Regions from separate parts of the Homo sapiens genome. Here region 1 is linked to region 2. The links are contacts of gene promoters, found by promoter capture Hi-C in blood cells and fetal thymus (Javierre and others, 2016). All regions are on one chromosome and are shown on one strand. The core of a region is centred on a gene start or on the middle of the fragment in contact, and the rest is flanking DNA. Distances in the headings are between cores, read along the strand shown.

Region 1 (5,081 bases), core at 1,443-3,942, 5.3 Mb before region 2:
TTTTCACTTCAAGGCTCAGAATTCTCCCCTTTTGAAATTTCGTTCAGTGAGGAAATTGATACCAATAATTTGCACTTTTAAAAGTATTTAAAATGATATCTAACATGAATTTAAAAATCTATCTTGTGTTATAGAAATTGAAGCATTTTGCATTCAAAAAGAGGCATTATTTTGGGGACTGGGAGAATCTTCCTAGCTAAAAGATTATGGAGGGTGTATTCGCCTATCTCACTTGTGGGCATGGTGCCCTTGCCTTTTTGGCGAAGGCAGGAAGGGAATATTTCAGCCTGATGCTAACAATGACGCTATCTTACATTGGCTTGGCACTCTCTAGTTATCTAAAGTTGAGTTTGCATCGATGATCTCATTAGAACCTTCCATCAGTCCTAGCAGGAAGTCAGGGCTAATATTTTAGCCTTGTTTGGCTGCAGAGGAAATGAGGTTCAGAGAGAGTGTGATTGGTCGAAAGTCGAATTGTGGAACTGGGACTATGATCTTTCCAAAATAAGCCAGCCCTGCCCTCTTCTTCCTTCCTCTCTTGCTCCCTTTCTGCACTAAACCTCTACCACGTGCCATACAGTGTGCAGGCACCAGGAATTTCCATGAGCTTCCCTTGAACCTTGCATATAAAGCAAAGTTCCTCTGAAGGGACCTATAGTAAACTAAAGAGGAGTAAACACAAAATCAATTAAGGGCACCAAAGTGTTAGAGAGACTGTGTTACAAATATTTACAGAAAGTAGTGTGAGAAGACAAGGGGAGTATTAATCAATTGCATATGGGACTAAGGGAAGTGGGACAGTGATGCATTAGGAAAAGCTTCATGAGACAGTAAAGTTCCAGCAAAGTTTAAAGTAAGAACAGCCACCAGACAGACCTGGAATTAGCCTTTTTGCAAAGTGCATTTCCATGAGAAACTGTGCAGGGGATACATGGCCAAATAATAGCATGCACTATGGTATATCGGAAATTCCTAATTCTTTTTGGGGATTTGAGTACCCCAGGAAGCCCTTCAAAAAGAAATGTTTAACTTTTGTGATCTAGCCAACATGTGGGATTATAGAGCTTTAAATACAAAATTTTAGAGAAAAACTAAGATTTTAAGTAACGTAATGTATTATGTAACTCTGGAAAGGACTAGCTTACAGCTTACGTCCACTTGCAGGCAGATCTTAGCAGGCTGCTGAGATTTGCCTGTGGAAAGTGCAAAAGTGAAGTGCAGTGGAGACCAGGCCCACTCAGATGGGTAATAAACCTTAAACCAGATAAACTAGAACACTGACACTGTTGCTGTCTTACATATAAAACATTGAGCCAACCCAAGAAAGGGACTCACGGTCCAAACGTGTCCGGAATTGGGTTCTTGGTCTTACTGACTTCAAGAATAAAGCCGCGGACCCTTGCGTTGTTACAGTTCTTAAAGGCGGCATGTCCAGAGTTTGTTCCTTCTGATGTTGGGATGTGTTCCGAGTTTTTTCCTTCTGGTGGGTTCATGGTCTGGCTGGCTCAGGAGTGAAGCTGAAGACCTTGGCAGTGAGTGTTACAGCTCTTAAGGCTGCGTGTCTGGAGTTGTTCCTTCTTCCTGGTGGGTTCGTGGTCTTTGCTGGCTTCAGGAGTGAAGCTGCAGACCTTTGTGGTGAGTGTTACAGCTCATAAACACAGTGTAAACGCAGCGTGGACCCAAAGAGTGAGCAGCAGCAAGATTCATTGCAAAGAGCAAAAGAACTAAAGCTTCCACACTGGGGAAGGATACCCGAACAAGTTGCCACTGTTGGCTCACGCAGCCTGCTTTTATTATCTTATCTGGCCCCACCCACATCCTGCTGATTGGTCCATTTTACAGAGAGCCGATTGGTCTGTTTTACAGAGAGCTGATTGGTCCATTTTGACAGGGTGCCGATTGGTGTGTTCACAATCCCTGAGCTAGACACAAAAGTTATCCACATCCCCACTAGATTAGCTAGATACAGAGTGTCCATTGGTGTATTTACAAACCCTGAGCTAGGCACAGGGTGCTGATTGGTGCATTTACAAACCTTGAGCTAGATGCAGAGTGCCAATTGGTGCATTCACAACCCCTTAGCTAGACATAAAGATTCTCCAAGTCCCCACCAGATTAGCTAGACACAAAGCGCTCATTGTTGCATTTACAAACCTTGAGCTAGACACAGAGTGCCCATTGGTGCATTCACAATCCCTTAGCTAGACATAAAGATTCTCCAAGTCCCCACCAGATTAGCTAGATACAGAGTGCCCATTGGTGCATCCACAAACCCCAAACTAGACACAGGGTGCTGATTGGTGTTTACAAACCTTGAGCTAGACACAGAGTGCTGATTGGTGCACTCACAATCCCTTAGCTAGACACAAAGGTTTTCCAAGTCCCCACTAGACTCAGGAGCCCAGCTGGCCTCACCCAGTGGATCTTGCACAGTGCCACAGGTGGAGCTGCCCGCTAGTCTCCCGCCGTGCGCCCGCACTCCTCAGCCCTTAGGCGGTCGGCGGTGCTCCTCCGGGAGGCTCAGGCCGCGCAGGAGCCCACGGCGGGGCGGGGGAGACTCAGTTATGGCGGGCTGCAGGTCCCAAGCCCTGCCCAGCGGGGAGGCAGCTAAGGCCGGGCGAGAAATCGAGCGCAGCGCCGGTGGGCCAGCACTGCTGGGGGACCGGGCGCACCCTCCGCAGCTGCTGGCCTGGATGCTAAGCCCCTCACTGCCCGGGGCGGCAGGGCTGGCCGGCCGCTCCGAGTGCGGGGCCGCCAAGCCCACGCCCACCCGGAACTCTAGCTGGCCCGCAAGCGCCACGCGCAGCCCCGGTTCCCGCCCGTGCCTCTCCCTCCACACCTCCCCACAAGCCGAGGGAGCCAGCTCCGGCCTCGGCCAGCCCAGAGAAGGTCTCCCACGGTGCAGCGGCGGGCTGAAGGGCTCCTCAAGTGCGGCCAGAATGGGCGCCGAGGCCAAGGGGGCACCGAGAGCGAGCCAGGGCTGCGAGGGCCGCCATCACGCTGTCACCTCTCACAGGAGCGATATGGGAGAGGAGGAGGGGGAAAGCCAAAGGTAGGTCCTGATTTTTAGTTCTTCCATCTGGCAGCGTGGCTAACTTGGAGGAAATTCTGAAGTGGAACCCCAGCCCTAGAATGGTGAGGGAGAGGTTGCTGGGGAAAACGATGTGGAGGGCTTAATCAAGGGCAGAGGATACTCATTTTGGGATGTGAACATCCCTCTTCCTGCAGTAAGGCTCTCATCTCCTCTCTTTTGCAAGGTGACTCAATTAGACAACAGCCTGGTGGCTGTCCGTTCTGTCTCCAAGGAGAATACCAGGTGTGTTCCTTAATTTCAGTATTTGTTTATCTCCCCCTCCTCCTTTTTCAAAATCCATTCTGAGAGGTGTTTCTTCTCCATGATATCTCAGACTGAAGTCTTTTTGCCCTGATTTTATATTATTTTCTTCCAAGATCCCTTCATATTACACGGTTGTTCCACCAGGGTGGAAACTTTTCCATCCTCTGAACCTATAATGGTGTTTGGTACACAGTAGGGACTCAGATTTATTGAGTAAAAATTTGAATGCCAGCTTTTAAAAGAAACAGACTCTTAGGTGTCTCATTCTCGTTTGGTAAACACGCAGATAAAGGAGGAGGAGCAGCTAGAAAAGGGAACTAAGCTTTACCATGCTAAACCACGTGTTATTCACTTTTCCCAGAATGCCTCCTTTAGGGTTTATGGTACGTCCCATGAATGGGTATTATTATATCATCACACCATTTGGCAGATGAAGAAACAGAAGGCCAGAAAAGTTTCACTTGTCTTCAGTCACCCAGGCACTAAGCACAGAGCTGGGACGTGTACCTGGTATGTGAGGCTGAGCCACAGCTCCATCAGTTTAGGGTCACCAAGAGGATATTGATCTCAGTGTCAGGAGATTGAAATCTGCTGCAGATCTTATCACTAATTAGTGTTAGATTCTTGTTATGTAATATTTGAATATAGAGGTAATCATGGATTTCTACTAATTTCTTCTTCTTACTTGGCCTACATTAAGATTTCCTCTTAAATGTGACATTAGATCACATGGAGGGGTTCTTCTGAAGGCTGAGGATAACATAATGCAATTTTGTTTAATATCATTCCCATTCTGCACTGAATTTGTCTGAGTAAAATGCATGAATCTTAGATTTGAGAAATCGAGATCTAGGCTCTTTTGAGATACTTGTCATTCACTAGATGGCACTGTTGTATTAACTTTACTTATTTCCTAGCTCTGGTTTAAAACCTTCAAGAGTATATTTCCTGTGATACTGTAGTTGTCCAACTATCCAGACTTTCCAGGTGTTGGTACAAGGACAGTGTAGGGGACAAGCAGATATTGTGTATACATCTTTTTAGTATGGGTCCTAAGTCCTAGTTTAGATTTTAGGACTGTAGTAAAATGCAGTGGGCTCTCAGTATTTGCGGGTTCTGCATCCATGGATTCAACCAGCCAGGAATGGAAACTATTAAACGGTAGGGCACGATGGCTCATGCTTGTAATCCCAGCACTTTGAAAGGCTGAGGCAGGAGGATTGAGCTCAGGAGTTTGAGACCAGCCTAAGCAACATGGCAAAACGCTGTCTCTAGTAAAAATACAAAAATTAGCTGGGCATGGTGGTGGACACCTGTAATCCCAGCTTCTTGAGAGGCTGAGGCAGGAGAATCGCTTGAACCGGGTAGGCAGAGGTTGCAGTGAGCTGTTATTGCGCTGCTGCACTCCAGCTTGAGCAACAGAGCTCTGTCTCAAGAAAAAAAAGAAGAAAGAAAGAAAAAGAAAATATTAAACAACAACAACAGCAGCAAAAAACTAACAAAAATAATAATAAAACAAAAAATAATACAAGTGAAAAACAATACAGCCTGTTTACATAGCATTTACATTGCATTAGGTATTGTAAGTAATCTAGAAATGATTTAAAATATATAGCAGGAAATGTGTAGGTTATACGCAAATATGACACCATTTTATATCAGTGACTTGAGCATCCATGGATTTTTGTATTTTCTGGGGTCCTGAAACTAATCCCCCTCAGATACCAAGGAATGACTGCAGTAG
Region 2 (4,562 bases), core at 1,333-3,832:
TTTCTTCTAGTCTTATTTTGATTGCTTATAGTCTTCTAAAAACCAATCTGCAAAAGAGAAAAGTCAGTGAGAACTCATTACTACACCTCTATTTTGTTACTGCTAGTATGAACATTGGTACTTTAGAAAATACTTTGATTAGGCCAGGCGCGGTGGCTCACGCCTGTAATCCCAGCACTTTGGGAGGCCGAAGCGGGAGGATCACGAGGTCAGAAATCGAGATCATTCTGCTAACACTGGGAAACACCGTCTCTACTAAAAATACAAAAAATTAGCTGGGCGTGGTGGCGAGCGCCTGTAGTCCCAGCTACTCGGGAGGCTGAGACAGGAGAATGACGTGAACGCGGGAGGTGGAGCTTGCAGTGAGCTGAGATTGTGCCATTGCACTCCAGCCTGGGCAACAGAGCGAGACTCTGTCTCAAAAAGAAAAAAAAAGAGAAAAGAAAAAAATACTTTTGATTTTACTTTGTATTAAATAAACTCCTGCTGCCCCCTAGTGGCAATTTATTGGGGAACAGAATCTCTGGGTCTATTGTCTGTTTTGCGGCAGAAACATGTATTGGCAACACCAATGTGGTACATAGAAGATTATCCCCCACATTAAGGCATTTTATAGACATCACAACAATGACCTTGTATTCATAATTGCATAACACAGTGGTTTGTCTGTTATCATTGCAATTAATGGAACTCAATCTGGGATTGTTCAAATGATGGCACCACAAGCCATTTGGCAATTGGAAGTCAGTCATTTCCTGATATGGCCTAGTAATTAGTTACTCGAATTACTTAAATTCTGAGTCTTTTTACACGCAACCAAGGCATCATCATCATGTGAACACCTGTGTTTACTCGACCTTGAGTAGACATAATAGCAAAAGAGTCTGTCCCCTATGAAGTTTAAAAATCCAGGCCGCGTGTTTCAATTCCTTATTTCCTGTCCCATCTTTGAACTCTTCCCAGGTTTATCGATTGTAGGAAATGCCATTCCCTTCAGGAGAAACCCAACTCCCAATCATACTGTTGGGGTATTCGCCTTTGGCCTAAAGGACACAATCACATCACAACACAATAATCCAAGTTTAGTGTTTGCTCAGTCTAGTTCCTTTTCATAGTCTCTTTAGGGTTGAAATAAAGAACAGCCTTCATCACTTTCCTAAGATTCTTCCATCACAGCTTCTCATTTACAAACAGCTGCTCAAAAACAGCTATATACAACTCCATTAGAAAAGTCTAAAATTTAAAAACAGAAGAAAAGTGTTTTAAATCAAACAAAGGTACTATTTTTCCCAAACAGGCATATAAAATTTGCACTTATTTTATATTGAAAGATACATGCAACTTCATTTACCCGGCAGAACAATAATTTGTATGGCAAACATATCTCTGTGTCTGGAATTGGTTGGTTCTTGGTCTGACTTCAAGAGTGAAGCCACCACCCTTGCGGTGAGTGTTACAGTTCTTAAAGACGGCGTGTCCAGAGTTTGTTCCTTCTGAAGTTCGGATGTGTTCGGAGTTTCTTCCTTCTGGTGGGTTCGTGGTCTCCCCGGCTCAGGAGTGAAGCTGCACACCTTCCCAGTGTGTGTTACAACTCTTAAGACGGCGCGTCTGGAGTTGTTCCTTTCTCCCGGTGGGTTTGTGGTCTCGGTGGCTTCAGGAGTGAAACTGCAGACCTTCGCAGTGAGTGTTCCAGCTCATAAAGGCAGTGTGGACCCAAAGAATGAGCAGCAGCAAGATTTACTGCAGAGTGAGAGAACAACGCTCCCACAATGCAGAAGGAGACCCCAACGGTTGCCACTGCTAGGTCAGGCAGCCTGCTTTTATTCTCTTATCTGGCCTCATCCACATCCTGCTGATTGGTCCATTTTACAGAGAGCCGATTGGTCTGTTTTACAGAGAGCTGATTGGTCCGTTTTGACAGGGTGCTGATTGGTGCATTTACAATCCCTGAGCTAGACACAAAAGTTCTCCACGTCCCCACTAGATTAGCTAGATACAGAGTGCTGACTGGTGTATTTACAAACCCTCAGCTAGACACAAAGTGCTGATTGGTGCATTTACAAACCTTGAGCTAGATACAGAGTGCCAATTGGTGTATTCACAATCCCTTAACTAGACATAAAGATTCTCAAGTCCCCACTTGACTCAGGAGCCCAGCTGGCTTCACCTGGTGGATCTCCCACTGGGGCCCCAGGTGGAGGTGCTTACCAGCCCCGCGCCGTGCGCCCGCACTCCTCAGCCCTTGGGCGGTTGATGGGACCAGGCGCCTTGGAGCAGGAGGCGGCGTTCGTCCGGGAGACTCAGGCCGCGCAGGAGCCCACGGCGTCGTCGGGGCGGGGAGACTCAGGCATGGCAGGCTACAGGTCCCAAGCCCTGCCCCGCGGGGGAGCAGCTAAGGCCCAGCGAGAAATCGAGCGCAGCGCCGGTGGGCCAGCATTGCTGGGGGAACCGGCGCACCCTCCACAGCTGCTGGCCAGGATGCTAAGCCCCTCACTACCAGGGGCCGGCAGGGCCGGCTGGCCGCTCCGAGTGCGCGGCCCGCCAAGCCCACGCCCACCCGGAACTCTAGCTGGCCCGCAAGCGCAGCACGCAGCCCCGGTTCCCGCCCGTGCCTCTCCCTCCACACCTCCCTGCAGGCTGAGGGAGCCGGCTCCGGTCTCGGCCATCCCAGGAAGGGGCTCCCACAGTGCAGCGGCGGGCTGAAGGGCTCCTCAAGCGTGGCCAGAGTGGGCGCCAAGGCCGAGGAGGCGCCAAGAGGGAGCGAGGGCTGTGAGGACTGACAGCACGCTGTCACCTCGTCTCTACTTAGGTGAATGATGCCTTTGGCCTGCTTATGTCTTCCATAGCCACAATGGTGAGTACTTGTTTTCTACTCAGCTAATAAGAAAATAAGTTTTGGCGGTTTTCTGAGAGCAAAAGTATTTATTGCTTGCCCAAGATAAATCGACCTCTAAAGAGACAGAAACTATTTTAAAACAGTTTTAAAAACAACATTTTTCCGTTTACACAGAAAGTTTTAGTGTCAATTTCACCCCCTCCCCAAATACTATACCCTTTATAAATTATGGGTGTTTGTTTTTGTTTTTGTTTTTTGTTGTTGGTGGTGGTTGGTTGGTTGGTTTGTTTTGTGCCTCTTACTCTTAAAGTATGGTCATTTAGGAAGTCTATGTAATTTTGTGTCCCCTGATTGCCCCCTCTTAGAAAATTGAAATTCTTCAAGGTGGAAGAAACAACATATCTATATTTGTAATCCAAGTATCTAGAGATAACCTGGCTTATAGTAGGTGATCAGTAAAAGTTTGTTGAATAGAACCAAAAAAAGAGGAATATAGATGATACTGATATTAAAAATAAAATAAAAATGACATCCACTGAGTGTTAGGATATCACCGAGGGAAACCCCAGAAGATTATTTAGTATTGATTGACAAAAATTAACATTTCTAAATGATGCTTTGAATTAAGGATTCTTGGTCTATTCATGACAAGTCTTCCAATGTGAATTTATATCTCAAAATATTACATAACCTGTAAAGCTGAATCCATGAATGTGAAGTCCAGCTAAATTTGAGACTGATTCTAAATACAGTGGTAGAGTATGCAGTTTGCTATTGTTGTCTTCTGTCTTTCATAACAAAATAATTTATTTTCTTCCTATATTGGTCAGGAATATCCTGTCAAGAAGGGAGGTTATCTAATTGTTGAAATATCAACATTTTAAAAGAAGACTCCAGAAAAGAGGGTAATGCTAAACATAAAGTCATGTTATGATAATGAAGGTACTTCAGGTGCATTATGGAGCACATGTTGAGAAGGGGTTTTTGGCAAATAATGTCCCTCAATTATAAGACGTGGGCATCACTTGATCACATCAAATGAGTCTATAGTTTAAGCCAGTCATAATTATTATACCTTGTAGCACATGCAAAGATTTATCTCAGCGCTTTTATAGTTTAACCCTATGTATATTAAAGGGCTAGAAACTCAATGTCATCTTTCCGAATAAACTTCCTCATGCGTCATATTTTTCATTGAAATCCTTTGTTTGTATTAATATTCTTAAAACCTATGATGTAGCTTTATAAATGAACAAAAATATTGAAGATTTATTTTTAATATTTTAAAAGATACAGATATGAAAAGTTCTTTTAAATCAGGAGATGAGAACTCTTGTGGTATATTCAAATCTCAGTTTTCATGGCAGTGATAATCAATGACATATCTCTATTTATCCCAACAATGAATATAAATAATAATAACAGAATCAATAACTAGTTTCCAGTGGTTTTAACAGAATCCATTTATTTCAAGCTTTAGCACTGATTTTTTTAAGTCCTAAAGGAAATTAATTGCGTTAGTTTTCATTTTAATTGATTTTTAAAGTTCTCTTTCATAAAGGAGCAGTTTGCTTCTCATTTTTCCATAAAGATTCCTCTAAATGGCATTTTTTCCTGCTGTTTTTTATATGGCTGTAGAGGTAATTTCTCCATATCACATTTAACTTGAACTGCCTCAGTCAAAAATGGGTTAAGCCCTAATTCCTACAGAAGAAAAGAACAGCAT

Evidence for each region. Contacts are between HindIII fragments. The CHiCAGO score rates a contact against its expected background, and 5 or more counts as called.
Region 1: a contact is called between a fragment that was not itself captured here and the fragment with the promoter of LINC01148 in region 2, in 2 of 17 cell types (M2 macrophages and M1 macrophages). The highest score is 10.8, in M2 macrophages.

Annotation. Positions count from the first base shown.
Region 1 is chr14:81,621,318-81,626,398 of GRCh38, forward strand. It overlaps LINC01467 (long intergenic non-protein coding RNA 1467), which reads right to left and starts at 1,744. Exons shown (of 3, transcript NR_110074.1): 1 at 1,336-1,744. The HindIII fragment of the contact is 1,929 bases long and covers 1,729-3,657 here.
Region 2 is chr14:86,903,196-86,907,757 of GRCh38, forward strand. LINC01148 (long intergenic non-protein coding RNA 1148) reads left to right here and starts at 2,583. Exons shown (of 5, transcript NR_038445.1): 1 at 2,583-2,854. The HindIII fragment of the contact is 4,593 bases long and covers 1-4,308 here.